2 separate regions of the Homo sapiens genome follow, and region 2 is linked to region 1. The links are contacts of gene promoters, found by promoter capture Hi-C in human tissues and cell types (Jung and others, 2019). All regions are on one chromosome and are shown on one strand. Each heading gives the region's core, a stretch centred on a gene start or on the middle of the fragment in contact. The rest is flanking DNA. Distances are from core to core; before and after follow the strand shown. Region 1 holds the start of ZSWIM4 (zinc finger SWIM-type containing 4). Region 2 overlaps CACNA1A (calcium voltage-gated channel subunit alpha1 A).

Region 1 (3,663 bases), core at 1-2,500:
ACAGAAGAGAGCTTCTAGGTGCACCTGTCCAGGGACCACCACCCAGGCTCCGCCCCTGCTGTTTTCCTATGGGAAGAGATAGGATAGGTCAGGGGGATGAGGTGGGGAGGAGGAGGGACCCTGGCATTTCAGTAATCCCTGCGGCAAGCCAGGAGAAGACGGGCAGCCCCGAAAGAGGAATCTGGAGGAGTAGAGAGGGGTCCCCAAGGAACAGGTGGAATCTGGAGGCTCGAGGGCAGGAATGAATGGGGAAAAAAGGGGTGTCTTGAGCTGGAATCTGGAGAGATGGGGGAGTTATTTACTTGGGGTGTACGGTAGGGATCTGGAGAGCAGGAATGGGGTAGTGTGAGTCTCTAGAGGCTACGATGGAGGGAGACAGGGTGTCCCCAAGCGGGGGGCCGAAGAGAGGATTGAAGACTGAATGGGGTGCCCTGATTGGCGAATAAAGATGCGGTAGGAAAAGAGGGGTACCGTTGGGGGATAAGGTGGGAAAAGAGGGGTACCGTTGGGGGATAAGGTGGGAAAAGAGGGGTACCGTTGGGGGATAAGGCGGGAAAAGAGGGGTGCCCAGGGTTGTAGGCGGGCCATGGGGGCCAGATCTCAGAGATCTGGGGTTGGTAGGAGAAGAAGGAAGTGTCCTGATTTGGGATCTGGGGCGCTGAGGGGCAGAGATGGCAGAGAAGGGATGGGGGTGGGTTACTGGGTTTGAAGGACAGAAACAGGAGGATGAGGGGGTGTTTCCAGGCAGGGTTAAGGGTCCTGGGGGTGGAATCTCAGGGGGTGTCTCTGATTGGGTTAGCTCTGGAGTCTGGGGATTGTGGGGGAGGAGAAGACAGGTGGGGAAGGTGCTGGGGGTGCGTCCCTGCCCCCGCCCCCTTCCCCCGCGGTCACCTGCTCGAAGGCCCAGCTCTCGGCTACCCGCTTGGCGCTGAGGTCCAGCAGCGCCTCGGGCCGGCCCCGGCCACGCGCGGCCCCGGCCCCGGCATCGCGCTCCTCGGGTCCCGCGGGGCAGCCCCGGCTCCGCTTGGCCGCGGGGGGTTCCATCCGGCCCGGCCGGGGCCAGGGCCGGGGCGGGGCCTCTTTGGGGGGCTCGGTCCGATGCCCGCTCCGCTTCGCCGGCTCCCGCGCCCCCTGCCCTCCTTCCCGTCCGTCCTCTGCGCTCGGCCGCCCCGGGACCCCTACCGCACCCACCCCCGACCCGCGCCGGGCCGGCAGGGTGATGCGGCCCCTTTAAGACTCTTCACAACAATGAAGCTGCTTCAGCCGCCGCTTTAGCTCCGCCGTCGTCCCGCCCCCACCGCCTGTCCCTATTGGCCCCCCCTCGGCCTCCTCGGCCCTCCCCCGCCATTGGCTGCGCCGCCAGACCCGTGTCCAAGCCTCGCTGCTCACTCGATGACTGCGATGCCAGTCTTTTCTTGTTTACCCAACCAGAGCGCACAGCGAGGGGCGCTGTCAATCACGGGGCGCCAGAGGCCAATCAGAGTGGGAGGACCCCCGCGGCCCAGGCCTTATGCGGAGTTTCGGGGCGGGCCCGGGGTTCATTCACAACATTCCTCCCCCGCCTCTCTTGGGCTGGACTGCGCGCCCCAGGCTTCTGGGGCTGCGCCCACACACGGCTTTGTTTACTGAGGGTCGCTTCCGGGCGCCGCGAGGGGACAATCAACATAGCCCGGCCGGTGAGCGAGACAGAGCAGCGGGATCCCTTGGCAGTGGCTCAGCCCCTCGTCCCTCCCAGCTGTGCGACCCGAGAAACTCACTCAACCTCTCTGGGCACCGGGTCAAGTTTTGGTTCTTGTGGGGGCGGAGGGGTCGCAGGCTCACTGAGGGAGCTCATGCGGGCCGCGGACCCCCTCTCCAGAAACAAAGCTCGGTTAGGGGGTTCATAGGTCATCCCTTGAGCCTCAAAACTAGTATAGTACCCCGCCCCTCCTTTCCATGCCCTAGATACTATCTTGGGTCATATGAAATTGCTAATTTTTTTTTACCATTTTTGGCCTGTTAAAATGGCAATTCCATGAGGTTCACCCTAACACTTAATCAAACCCCAGCACCTCTGAGCATTTTTTCTGACTCAGCTTGTGTAGGCCACCGTCTCTGGCCTGGAAGCTGGCCATGGCTTCCATCACCCGTTCCCGTCCCGGCTCCTTGCCAATGTCCTCAGAGGACCCTGCATTTTTCCTTCCTCATACTTCTCACCATTACCATTTATTTATCTGTTTCGGCGGTTTTTTTTTTTTTTTTTTTTTTTTTTTTTACGGAGTTTCACTCTTGTCGTCCAGGCTGGGGTGCAGTGGTGCGATCTCGGCTCACTGCAACCTGCGCCTCCCGGGGTCAAGTGATTCTCCTGCCTCAGCCTCCCGAATAGCTGAAATTATAGGCGCCCACCACCACGCCCGGCTAATTTTTGTATTTTTGGTAGAGACGGAGTTTTGCCATGTTGGCCAGGCTGGTCTTGAACTCCTGACCTCAAGTGATCCACCTTTGGTAGTTGCTTAATTTCAATCTCTCCCTCTCCACTGTGAGCCTCAGGAGGCAGGAGTTTGTCCCATCTGTGCTTTACTGTACCGGCAGCACCTGGAAGGTAGGCGCTTAACCTAGAACTTGTTGAATGTACCAACCAACACATGCTTTGCCTCCATTCAGTTAAATGATAGGCACAGCAGAAAAAAAAAAAAAACAGTGATTATCCACTCATCCATATGGAAGCCCTAGCTTTTTCTTGGAGAAACTTCGAGTCTCACAGCTGCACCCTCTGGCCAGTCTTCACCCACTCTCCCTGCCACCCCCTCAATTAGTTAAACTCCCCTGCAGACCTGCACTGTCCAGTATGGTCACCAATGGCCACAAGTGGTCTCTGAGCCCTTGAAATGGGACTGGCTGAAATTAGGTTGTGCTGGAAAGGTAAAATACAGAGTGGATTTTGGAGACATAGCAGGAAGGGAACAAGGAAAAATATTTCTTTTTTTTTTTTTGAGATGGAGTGATCTCAGCTCACTGCAACCTCTGCCTCCCAGGTTCACGTGATTATTCTGCCTCAGCCTCCCAAGTAGCTGGGGCTACAGGCACCCACCGCCACGCCTGACTAACTTTTGCATTTTTAGTAGAGACGGGGTTTCACCATATTGGCAGGCTGGTCTCAAACTCCTGACCTTATGATCTGCCTGCCTTGGCCTCCCAAAGTGCTGGGATTCCAGGCGTGAGCCACCACGCCCGGCCTAAAATATTTCATTAAGAATGTTTTCCATCCTGGCTAACACAGTGAAACCCCTTCTCTACTAAAAATACAAAAAATTAGCCGGGCATGGTGGCAGGCGCCTATAGTCCCAGCTACTAGGGAGGCTAGGGCAGGAGAATGGTGGGAACCCAGGAGGCAGAGGTTGCAGTGAGCCAAGATTGCGCCACTGCACTCCAGCCTGGGGGACAGAGTGAGACTCCAAAAAAAAAAAAAAAAGAATGTTTTGGCCAGGCGCGGTGGTTCACGCCTGGAATCCCAGCACTTTGGGATGGTGAGGTGGGAAGATCACTTGAGCCCAGGAGTTTGAGACCAGCATGGGCAACATGGCGAAAACCCATCTCTATTAAAAAATAAGAAAATCAGCTGGGCGTGGTGGCACAAGCCAGTAGTCCCAGCTACTCTGGAGGCTGTGACAGGAGGATCTCTCG
Region 2 (3,663 bases), core at 852-3,351, 450 kb after region 1:
GTTGCAGTGAGCTGAGATCACGCCATTACACTCCAGCCTGGGCAACAAGAGCAAAACTACATCTCAAAAAAAATGTTTTTTAATTAGCCGGGTGTGGTGGTCCATGTCTGTAGTTCCAGCTACTTGGGAGGCTGAGGCAGGAGGATTGCTTGAGCCCAGCAGTTCAAGGCTGCAGTGAGCTATGATCCCGCCACTGCACTCCAGCCTGGGCAACAGCAAGACCCCATCTCTTAAATAAACACATAAGTAAATAAATGATCATTTTTATTTTATTATTAAATACACAAGATAAATGAAAAACAGGCAAATCTTTCTTACAAAAGAATTCCATTTAAAGTATGTAAACTTCACTCCCCACTGCCCCAGGAGGTGGAGACTAATCTCCCCTACTTTGAGAGTGGGCTGGATTTAGTGACTCATTTCCGAAGAATAGAGTAGGTAAAGGGGAAAATAGAAGTTTTATAGCGGAGGAACAGATAGATACCACTTTAACCAAATGATGAAGATTAGTATCCCCCAGGGATGTGGATATTATGTAACCCTTGATTTTATGCCTATATAGCGTTCTTCCCAAAAACTCCTAATCCCAGTTTTTTGGGGTTTTGCTCTGTCTTCTAAGCTGGAGTGCGATGATGCAATCATAGCTCACTGCAGCTCAAACTCCTGGTCTCAAGCGATCCTCCCACCTCAACCTCCTGAATAGCTAGGGCTGTAAGCACATACCATCATGCCCAGCTAATTGTATTTTTTTGGTAGAGACATGTTCTCACACATTGCCCACGCTGTCCTCGAGCTACTGGCCTCTAGTGATCCTCCCACCCCAGCCTCCAGAGTCACTGGGATTATAGGCATGAGCCACTGTGACCAGCCCAGAATTTTTTTTTAAGGAGTTGTGATGTCGTTTAAGAGATGTGATTCTTCATAACACATCAACAACAAGTCCCAGCGATGGGTTGGATAAGTCTTGGGATTTCATGGGAGTATTAAGCTTAAAAGACTTTGCATGATATCTGTGAACTATATGTGATTTCTGTTGGTAATGGGGGTCACTGATTCTGCGGTTTGCCACCTCCAATCATCATGGAAGAAAATGTTCCACTTCCAGTGAAAGTAAGAGGAAGTAAAGGGGTAATTATTTTCTATCTAAATTCACGAACTCCTTGAATTCTGTCCACAGACCCCTAAGTGTTTCCTCCCCAAGGTGAAACTGAGAGAATCTTGCCAGTGCCTTCCGCAGTCACTGTGGCTAGAAAACCCCTCAGAAGAGGTGATAGTTTAGCAGGTAACTGGAGTTCTCACCATCCGTGTCTGGCTCAGCCCCCATCACAACCAGTTACCCAGCCCAAAATGTCAGTAGTACTGAGGTTGAGAGGCTCTGCTCTAGGAGGCCAGGCCTCTCAGAGGAAGGAGGATTGGGGTACTGGCTGGGCCTCAAGATGAACCTACCCCCTAAGAGCTTTGGGATGGCGTGAGTTTCTGTCCATACCCAAGGACTACAAATGCAGGTTTACTGGAAATTCTGTGCCAAAAGTGAGGTCCAACTCACTTCTAACTGCTACAAAACAAACCTCCATCAACATAGCCCATCTCTGTTCTTGACCTGGAAGCTCCAAGGTATCCACATGGCTCCCATGCCCACTAGACGGGCCTCTTCCCTGGACCTTCCTGGGCCAGAGAAGGCTCTGGGTAGCCTTGTGGAATCAAGATGGGTGATCAGCCACTTCCTCTGTGCCACCCTGTTTTGGCTACTTCCCTAGGCATCAGCCTGGGATTCCTTGATGGTAAAAATATAAAACTCTCTGAGCTAGGGCCTTTAATATCCCCATTTTACAGATGAAGAAACTGAGTCCCAGAGCTGTGCACAGCGATTGAGAGTCAGAATTCAGCTCTGTCTCACTCAGTGTCAACATCCTCAGATTCTGCCATTTATAGCCTCCCACAGCAAATAGGATTGAGGGCTGCTTCTCTGAGCTCAAGGGGATAGAATGGGGAACCCCATGAGTACTGCAACAAAACTGTTTGCTGGAGACAAGAGCTGGTGGCTCTGTGTTGTTCTAGTGACAGGTGGCCTCATTTCACAGGGACCCCCTCACCCTATGTGCCCCATGTGGCTCAGAAAAGCCAGAAATTGTCTCCACTCTCACAGGGGAAGGTCCCTGACCCCCTCTTTGCCAGCTGGGCCAAGGCAAATTGGGGTCACTTCATGGGGTACAGGACCTACCCTCTCTTGGTTGCCCCCAAGGAGGGGATGTGGAGGGGCTGGGGACCTGGCAGGACCAGGGTGTCTTGAGTTAATTTGGGGCTGCCTTTAGCCGAGGGCTTCTGTGTGCCTGGCATCAGCTTTACATTGTGTCTTGATCCGTAAAACAGCCCTGTGAGGAAAGATATTTTTAACCCCATCTTCCAGATGAGGAAACGGAGGCCCACAGGGTGACGTGACCTGCCAAGGTCCCCTAGCCAAGAGTGACAAAGCCAGGGTTCACACACAGCTCTGGACACAATTCATCACCCTTCATCCGTCTCTCTCTGACTCTTTCTTTTTCCCTCTCTCTCTTTGTCTCTCTTTTTTTTTTTTTTTTTTTTTGAGACAGCGTCTCACTCTGTCACCCAGGCTAGAGTGCAGTGGCGCAATCTCGGCTCACTACAACCTCCATCTCCTGGGTTCAAGCGATTCTTGTGCCTCAACCTCCCAAGTAGCTGGGATTACAGGTGCGTGCCACCACACCCAGCTAATTTTGGGGGGTTTTGTTTTGTTTTGAGATGGAGTCTTGCTCTGTCGCCAGGCTGGAGTACAGTGGCGTGATCTCGGCTCACTGCAGCCTCTGACTCCCAGGTTCAAGTGATTCCCCTGCCTCAGCCTCCTGAGTAGCTGGGACTACAGGCATGCACCAACACGCCCAGCTAATTTTTTGTATTTTAGTAAAGACGGGGTTTCACCATGTTGGCCAGGATGGTCTCGATCTCCTGAGCTCATGATTCGCCCGCCTTGGCCTCCCAAAGTGCCGGGATTACAGGCGTGAGCCACTGTGCCTGCCAATTTTTTGTATTTTTAACAGAGACTGGGTTTCAACATGTTGGCCGGGCTGGTCTCGAGCTCCTGACCTCAAGTGATCTGCCTGCCTTGGCCTCCCAAAGTGCTGGTATTACAGGCATGAGCCACCATGCCCAGCCTTTGTCTCTTTTATTCTTGTGTTCTCTCTCTCTCTTCCTTCTCTTTCTCCACCTCCTTCTCCTTCTCTCCCTTCTCCTCACCCTTCTTTGTGCTTTTCTCTGTGAGTTTCTCTTCTTCTCTATTTCTCTCCTTTGGTGAATGTCAATTAGAAAAGCAGAAAAACTGCGTTTAATTTGTGATCATAAATGCATGTCCCTGGCCAGGCGTGGTGGCTCACGCCTGGAATCCCAGCCCTTTGAGAAGCTGAGGCAGGAAGATTGCTTGAGACCGGGAGTTCAAAACCAGCCTGGTCAAAAAGCAAGACCCCATCTTTAAAAAAGAAAAATAATTAATTAGCTGGGCATGGTGGTGTGTACCTGTAGTCCCAGCTACTCGGGAGGCTGAGGAAGGAGGATTGCCTGAGCCCAAGGGTTTGAAGCTGCACCGAGCTGTGATTACACCCCTGCACTCCAGCCTGGGTGACAGAACCAGACCCTGTCTCAAAAAAAACC

The links. Contacts are between HindIII fragments. The study calls those that stand out against the background at their distance.
Region 2: a contact is called between a fragment that was not itself captured here and the fragment with the promoter of ZSWIM4 in region 1, in 1 of the 25 tissues and cell types used here (lymphoblastoid cells).

Annotation. Positions count from the first base shown.
Region 1 is chr19:13,793,030-13,796,692 of GRCh38, reverse strand. It overlaps ZSWIM4 (zinc finger SWIM-type containing 4), which reads right to left and starts at 1,250. Exons shown (of 14, transcript NM_001367834.3): 1 at 892-1,250. The coding sequence starts at 1,044. RefSeq lists an enhancer at 587-656 and silencers at 897-1,106, 1,127-1,616. The HindIII fragment of the contact is 5,751 bases long and covers 1-3,624 here.
Region 2 is chr19:13,347,929-13,351,591 of GRCh38, reverse strand. All of the region lies in intron 6 of CACNA1A (calcium voltage-gated channel subunit alpha1 A), which reads left to right. Among named protein-coding and RNA genes, the nearest start is that of CACNA1A, 160 kb to the left of the region's middle. The HindIII fragment of the contact is 8,117 bases long and covers 1-3,663 here.